Regions from separate parts of the Homo sapiens genome. Here region 2 is linked to region 1. The links are contacts of gene promoters, found by promoter capture Hi-C in human tissues and cell types (Jung and others, 2019). All regions are on one chromosome and are shown on one strand. Each heading gives the region's core, a stretch centred on a gene start or on the middle of the fragment in contact. The rest is flanking DNA. Distances are from core to core; before and after follow the strand shown.

What was found. The method cuts DNA at HindIII sites, captures the fragments that hold promoters and counts their contacts. A contact is called where the count stands out against the background at its distance.
Region 2: a fragment that was not itself captured here is called in contact with the fragment with the promoter of SEC24B in region 1 in 1 of the 25 tissues and cell types used here (hippocampus).

What each region holds. Positions count from the first base shown.
Region 1 is chr4:109,431,654-109,435,414 of GRCh38, forward strand. SEC24B (SEC24 homolog B, COPII component) reads left to right here and starts at 2,162. Exons shown (of 24, transcript NM_006323.5): 1 at 2,162-2,349. The coding sequence starts at 2,217. SEC24B-AS1 (SEC24B antisense RNA 1) reads right to left here and starts at 2,164. Exons shown (of 3, transcript NR_039978.1): 1 at 2,081-2,164; 2 at 39-93. RefSeq lists silencers at 1,792-2,181, 2,232-2,501, 2,880-3,174 and enhancers at 2,056-2,915, 2,992-3,141. The HindIII fragment of the contact is 2,513 bases long and covers 1,554-3,761 here.
Region 2 is chr4:109,473,470-109,477,230 of GRCh38, forward strand. All of the region lies in intron 3 of SEC24B (SEC24 homolog B, COPII component), which reads left to right. Among named protein-coding and RNA genes, the nearest start is that of MIR576, 13 kb to the right of the region's middle. The HindIII fragment of the contact is 4,080 bases long and covers 1-3,750 here.

The DNA of each region.
Region 1 (3,761 bases), core at 912-3,411:
TAAAGGTTGTAGTGTTTGTCAGGAGGAAAAATATCTACCTTCTAGAAGGGGTGCCACGGCAGCGACAGCACAAGGCCCGTGCGTCTGGGGTTCCTGTAACAAAAGAAAGGCATATGAATGTATGATATTTAATGTAAGTTTTACATGGCACCAGAGCCTTCATAAGGAAACGAAGACCTGAAGAAACCTGAGCGTTTTATACCAAGCTTGATGAAGAGTAGACTGTTATGGAAAACTGTGATAAGACAAAAAGATGGGCTAAGGGCAGTAAACTGGGGGAAACCTACCAAGGCCTATTCATTTAGATTCCTCTTGGCGTCTCTCTGTCTTCACAAATAAGACTGCTTCTTTTCTCCAGGTATAGAGAGGGCATCTCTCACATGAGGGTCTTATGACCTGCTTCATGGGAAGGTCAGAGTCCTCACACCTGCCATTTCTCAAATTCCATCAGCTTAAAACATTCAATATGCCAAGGTGTTATATTTTGGGGTAGTGTGCCCTGAACACCATCATAAACATGCTAGAAAAATTCTACAGCAAATTAGTGGACAAGGGGAAGGAGCTTAGGTATTAAAGATTGTGGAGAAGATCTATTAAAACACAGGGCCCCAATCCTCCTCTTAAGGAGTCTCCCCTTAAGAGACAGGGTTCACTTTCATCCCATATACTTCTGATTAAAAGGAGCCTCTTATACCCAGGAGAATACATTCCAGGTGCAGAAAGCCAATTACCTAGTTATTCCCTTACCCACGTAATTATAGACCTTAATCCAAATTCAAAGGACTCCTGGGAGATGCTGGAATCTGTAATTGTGTAATCTCTTTGATGAAGCACAGAGTGTGATCTTTTGCTCATGTGGGGCTAGGTTTCTGTGGAGAAGCTGGAAATGCTGTGGAAAAGGGCTTGCCCCTTTTGTGTATATGAACTCTAATGTAGTTGAAATTCCTAGAAGTCAAAGATATAAATCTAACTACTAAAATTCATTTAGTGCATTAAAATGCCAGTTATTAATTTACGGCAACAACTAAAGGGAAGCTTTGTATTATTCTAGGACTACAATGCAATTTATGCTTTGCATAATCATTCAGTAAATGACTTATTGCTCCAGAAATACCATCTTGCTAGATCCCATTCTGAATTCAGTGTTTCTGAGCAATCTCATCTCCAATACAGAGTGATGACATACTCAGGATTCCAAGACGGCAAAATGACTTGGGTAATGTAGTCTAGGGCCTGCCAGTGAGTATGCTGAGACAGACCAGAAAGACTTAAAGATTCCACTAATGTAGACAAAGCAAGCTGAGCCACAACTTCTCGGAACACCAACAGGATGCACCAACAATCGACAAAAAAAAAAAAAAAAAAGGAGATAAAGTTTAAAGTTTGTCTTCCAGCATTCCCTTACCCTATTTTCCCCTTCCTCTTCCCTACTTTATCAGTGGGAAAAGTTCTCAATAATGCAATTCTTACTGAGATTCTTGTGTTTATCAGAGAAATGTTTCCTCTTTCTTTGCCAAGGAATTATATATTCCCAACAGACATGGCGCTTGAATGCTATATTTCCTTTGGAATCAAGAAAGGGGAGGTGGGGGAATCAAAAATTAAAAACCAAACCCAAGCCATTGTTCCTCTTCGAGGAAGGGTGGGTGGTCAGTCGTCGCCTGAGCTCCGAACATCAACCCGCGGCTCTCAAGTTCCCCTCCCAGTAATGCTGGGCCCAGCCTCGCCGCGGCCGATCCAGCCTCTGCCCTAGGTGGAAGCGGGCCACCCGGTCCCTTCACCCACTGAGGCCCAGTCCTTTCGCCTCAACACGAAGGCACCTGGCCGGGCCGGAGCAGCAGCCGCGGGGCCGGCACTGGGGCCACGGAACCCCGGGCCAGACTCAGGCCTGGGCCAGCTCGGCTCCGGCCTGCAGGGGGCGCTGCGGCGGCACCGGCGCGAGGCCCGCGCGTGCGGGGAGCGACCCCAGGTGTAAGTCCCGGGGCGTGGGGCGCGTGGGTCAAGGCGGAGCGACCCAGGATCCCCGCGCCCGCGGCGGCCGCCGAGTGGCAGCGCTGGACTCGCGGAGAAGCTTGGGTACCTGAGCCGCGGTCCCGGGTGACACCCTCAGTGACGCCAGGCGCGTTCCTTCCTCTTCCTCTCTCCTCTCCGGCCCCGCCTTCCCTTCCCTCCGCCCACCTCCCTGAAGCGGAGCCGCCGTCGCCACCAGCGCCGTCATGTCGGCCCCCGCCGGGTCCTCTCACCCGGCCGCCAGCGCCCGGATCCCGCCCAAGTTCGGCGGAGCGGCCGTCTCAGGAGCCGCAGCGCCCGCGGGCCCGGGTGCGGGCCCGGCGCCGCACCAGCAGAACGGTGAGGCGGGCGGCCCGGGCGGAGCGCGGGGCCTAGCACCGGCTGGGCGGCCTGCACGGCCACATCGGGGCGGGGCGGGCCGGGCCGGGAAGGGCGTTCGGGGCCAGGCCCGGCCCGAGGGACGGGAGCGGGCGCGGTGCGGAGGCCGCGGGGTCCGGGTTGGGTGCGGGTAGGGGGCAGGGAAGGCACGGCGCGGGGCGCGCGGGGGTGGGACGCCCCTGGCGTGGGGGCGGGGGCCGGCCTGGGAAAGCTGGGGCCGTGGCTGTTTATGTAATGCGACCCCAGGCCCGAAACGGCCTCGGGCGAGTAGGGGCGACTGAAAAGCTGGGAGCCCACGTAGTAAAACCCAGTTACCTAGCCTGGACGCGGGCGAGTTGCCCCGAGCGACCCCTTGGCTGCGAGAGCTGGCCAGAAGCCGAGGCCGCTGAGTGCGTGGTCCGGAGAAGGCTGGTGCAGCCACCCAGCAGGGTGGATTGTGCCCTTCCTGTCTCAGGAAAATTGCTTCGGTTCCCGAGGCCCAGCGAACACGCTGCCTTGAGGAAACTTAAGTTTGCACTCAAGTTTGTAGACAAAAGGGTGTAAATATGCTATATAAGTGTAACTGTAACCCTGACCCAGTTCGGCCTCAAGAACTGTCATTGCCGCTGCGGCTGCTGCTCAAGCTTTTGGAGTTTGCTTGTAGTGTTTGAAAGGGAGCAGATGTAAACGGATTTAAACGAACATCTTTAGATCTGGGTGTTTTTCCTAGCTCCACTTTCAGAGATGAAAAAACGTGCCAGAGTTGGCCCTGCTTTGAGGCAGGGCCTTCATACAGGCAGCAGCCAAATGCAGCACGAAAGCCGCTTTCATATTAAGGTCGTGGGCTTTTAGTAGGCTGCAAAATGATGGATATGCATTCCCTAATGCTGAGATTTGGAATGTTCGCGGATAGGGGCCAAGGGTGGAGGAATTCTCCTTACAGACTTCTTAGTATGTCAGATGAGAACCTTGGAAAGTAATTGACTGAATTTAGAAAAATACCTCTGTCCTGTGTTGGTACGAGAACCAAACTGCATTAGTACTCTCCAGATGATTGACCTGTTTTATCTAATTTCCTAATGAAAATCTGCTGGACTTTATGAATTAGTTTAATCAACATCTAAGTTTTACAACTGATGCTTTTCAAACATGAAGTGTATCGTTTGTCCTGAGGATCAGAAGTTGAGTGATACTTTAGCCTTAATATTCTTTGGATCAGCCTTACCTATCAGTATTACATGCTGTACTCTCAGTAGTCATTGTTTACTATAATCGCTTTTGGATATAAACCTGTTCTGAACAAATGTAAAAATACTATTTGTGAGCAGTGTTTGTTCTTGTAACCTTAATATAAGTTCTTGTTTTTGTTTGTTTTTAAAATAGCTTTATGAAGG
Region 2 (3,761 bases), core at 461-2,960, 41 kb after region 1:
TTATTTCCTATTTTTTAAAGGTTATTATAGTTTCTTTTAGGATAGAGAAGCCAAAACTTTATTATTTAGTGACTCTCCATATCCTATTTGATTATTTCTGTGCTTTTTGTTATTGATAACAGAAAGTAAGCTTTGACAGAATTTTGCAAATGAAAGGGGGTGAAAATGAAATTGTAACCCATACTCTTGCGTCATTGAAGAACTATATGATTTATTGTTTGTTTAATATTCTCCATGTGTTAAGTAAGTAAAAGGTAATAAAATGTGTTGTTTTGACCCTGCTTCCCCACATTGTTTCTTTTGGCAGTTTTTGTTTTTGTTTTTGTTTTTCCTGTCTGGCTAAAATTCCAAAGTATTGATGTTTCAGGTTAATATATGGCATTTTTTATTTGATCAGAGATGATTGAACTGTTTTCAAGAATCTGTAGTTTGTATTTCCAGAGCAACCATTGTATTATTTTAGGGACTGTACTCACTATGTAATGACAGCTCCTAACGTTGAGTGTGAAGAACCTTCTTATAGGTCTGAAACTGAGAAAAGGAAAAAAGCATGATAAATTCCTAGGGTGATCTCATTGCTTGTATCTGTTGAGTGTCTATGTGATCAACAGAGACCTTTCTGTCAATTGATCAGATGATACATTACACATTTTCTTACTTGGTTTTTTAGGAAAAGTAACTGCAGCACCAAAGAGTGCCTGTTGATTCTCAACAAACCAGTGGGTATACTGGAAACTGAATTTAGTTCTTAAAAGTATTTGCCTTCAAAGTGAAGGTCCAGTAGAAGTTTTGTTTATCACAAATCAAAAAAGCTTTTAGGATAGATCAAAGCCCTAACTAAATGAATGGTGTCTTTTCTTGTTTTTCCTCTACATTGATGACTGCCTTCCATTTCTTAAATGTTTCGCTTTTTTTGGCCTATTACATTGCCCCTGCTGCTTATTTCTTCCTATTGTTTTTTTTTTTTTTTTGGAGTTGGGAGTCTTGCTCTGTCACCCGGGGTTGAGTGCAGTGGCATGATCTTGGCTCACTGCAGCCTCTGCCTCCTGGGTTCCAGCGATTCTCCTGTCTCAGCCTCCTGGGTAGCTGGGATTACAGGCGCACGCCACCTCGCCCTGCTAATTTTTGTATTTTTGGTGGAGATGGGGTTTTACCATGTTGACCAATCTGGCCTCGAACTTTTGACCTCAGGTGATCCGCCCACCTTGGCCTCCCAAAGTGCTGGGATTACAGGCGTGAGCCACCACGCCCAGCCCCTATCATATTTTCTTTTTTACCATCTTACTATAAATACCATCCTATCATCTTTTTATAAATAATATTTTGTAAATGGTTTGCCCACTAAACAATTGCAATTATGTTTCTTCTTTTTTCTATTAAAATATATTTTGAAAGTAGAAGAAGCTGCCATTTATTGAGCACATACAATATATCAGATACTTTATATCTCATTAATTCACATATTAATCTTATGACATAGATATTCTTCCTTTTTTACAGATGAGAAAAGTGAGATTGACAGAGGTTAGGTAACTTGCCCAAGACTACAAGTTAATAAGTAGCAAAGCAAAAGATTTTTTAACTCAGATCTCTCTATCTTGTATTCTTTCTATAAAATAAAGCTGAATTTTTGTTGTCATTGGCTGTTGACAAACTAACTCTTGGTTTACCTAAGATAAGTTTCTTGCTTAAGTAACAGAAAATATCATACTGGGGACATCTGAATTGTAGTTTTTATTGTTCCTTTTTCATAAGTAGGAGAATGGCCTCTTAGTGACTTCTTTGTCTTTGGAGAGATCTGAGCTATACAACCTAATTGAGTCAGGGCTACCACATATGGTGGTGCGAATTGTCATTTGCATGAATGGAGCTTCTTCGAATTGTGCAGTGTATCATCTGCATAGGGTTTACTGTGGGCCTGATATGAACTACTAAAGTGATTATACTTAAAAAGAGATTAGCTTTTTTCTTCCAAATTCAAAGACACCGTTGCTTAGTTGTTCTCCCAAGACTAAGCATTTTTTTTCTGTTTTTAGGGGAGACATCAAATTTTTGTTTGGGTAGCCCCTAAAATTTTTTTTATAAACTACCTACTTGAACATTTTTTAGATTGATATCTAAAATTTTTCATCAAAAATTTAAATACTTGTAGTTATGCAGTTTTTAACATATATGCTGGCTGACTTTTAAAACTGAGATGTTACATTATTCTTTCAAATGTACCCTTTGGAATGATACCTACCATCGTCCTTTTGCAAAACACACAAATACCCCTTCTTTAACATTTGGGAAGTTTACATTTTTCATTTTTCTATTTGATGGCATATCCCCTTTCCTTAATGTAATAATAAAATATATGCTTACACTAGAAACTCTTTTATCACTCTATTGTGCTTTTCCATGACCATAATATATAAAATGAAATGTTAAAATTTGTTTTATTATCTATGACTTTAAGTCTCTAAATAGTATATTTTCTTTTGAATGAAGCCATCAATCATTACAACTTTTTCTCTCTCTCTTTTTTTTTTTTTTTTGAGACAGACTCACTCTGTCACCCAGGCTGGAGTGCAGTGGCATGATCTTGGGTCACTGCAGCCTCTGCCTCCCAGATGCAAGCGATTCTCATGTCTCAGCCTCCTGAGTAGCTGGGATTACATGCATGTGCCAACATGCCCAGCTAATTTTTGTATTTTTAGTAGAGACGGGGTTTCACCATGTTGACCAGGCTGGTCTCAAACTCCTGGCCTCAAGTGATCTGCCTGCCTAGGCCTCCCAAAGTGTTAGGATTACAGGCGTGACCATTGTGCCTGGCCAATCACTACAGCTTTTATTGTTGGTATAAAATTGGTCAAAACAACATAAACATCATGAATTTTGGTATTTATGTGAAGTACGTTTTTATTGGAAATACATCTTTCAGTGAAATGAATGGGCTGTCTCCTCTCCCCACTATAGTTTTGTATCTGAGTTGAATATGATTCATTGTTAGAATATGATAATGTTCAGATAAATTTCATTCTTAGTTTTTATTTTCATACATATAATTGCTGAGAAACATTGTTCACATAAAGTAGATTAGAATTACTTGTAAGAATTCTGCTAAAGCAGTATCATTCTGTTTTGCTTTATTTTGCTTTTACTCTTTTTAACCTTCTGAGTTACATGTCAGAAATTATTGTTTGTTAGATTTTATTTTCCAGGTGGTAGTTGTTAACATTATTATTTCATATAACAGTTTGTAATTTGCAAATCCCTTTAACTTTTTCTATCTGTCTTACTTTCTCATCACATGGAACAAGCATATCATATGTTTTCTTCCTTTTGTAAGTGAGGAAATTTAAATTTAGAAAGGTTACATGTCTTACCTTAAGACCTACAGAGTTGGCCGGGCGCAGTGGCTCACGCCTGTAATCCCAGCACTTTGGGAGGCCGAGGCGGGCGGATCACGAGGTCAGGAGATCGAGACCATCCCGGCTAAAACGGTGAAACCCCGTCTCTACTAAAAATACAAAAAATTAGCCGGGCGTAGTGGCGGGCGCCTGTAGTCCCAGCTACTTGGGAGGCTGAGGCAGGAGAATGGCGTGAACCCGGGAGGTGGAGCTTGCAGTGAGCCGAGATCCCGCCACTGCACTCCAGCCTGGGCGACAGAGCGAGACTCCGTCTCAAATAAAAAAAAAAAAAAAAAAAAAAAAAGACCTACAGAGTTGGAAGGAGAGGTACCCAGGCCCATTGCACACCTTTTGCCTTCAAACTCAGTA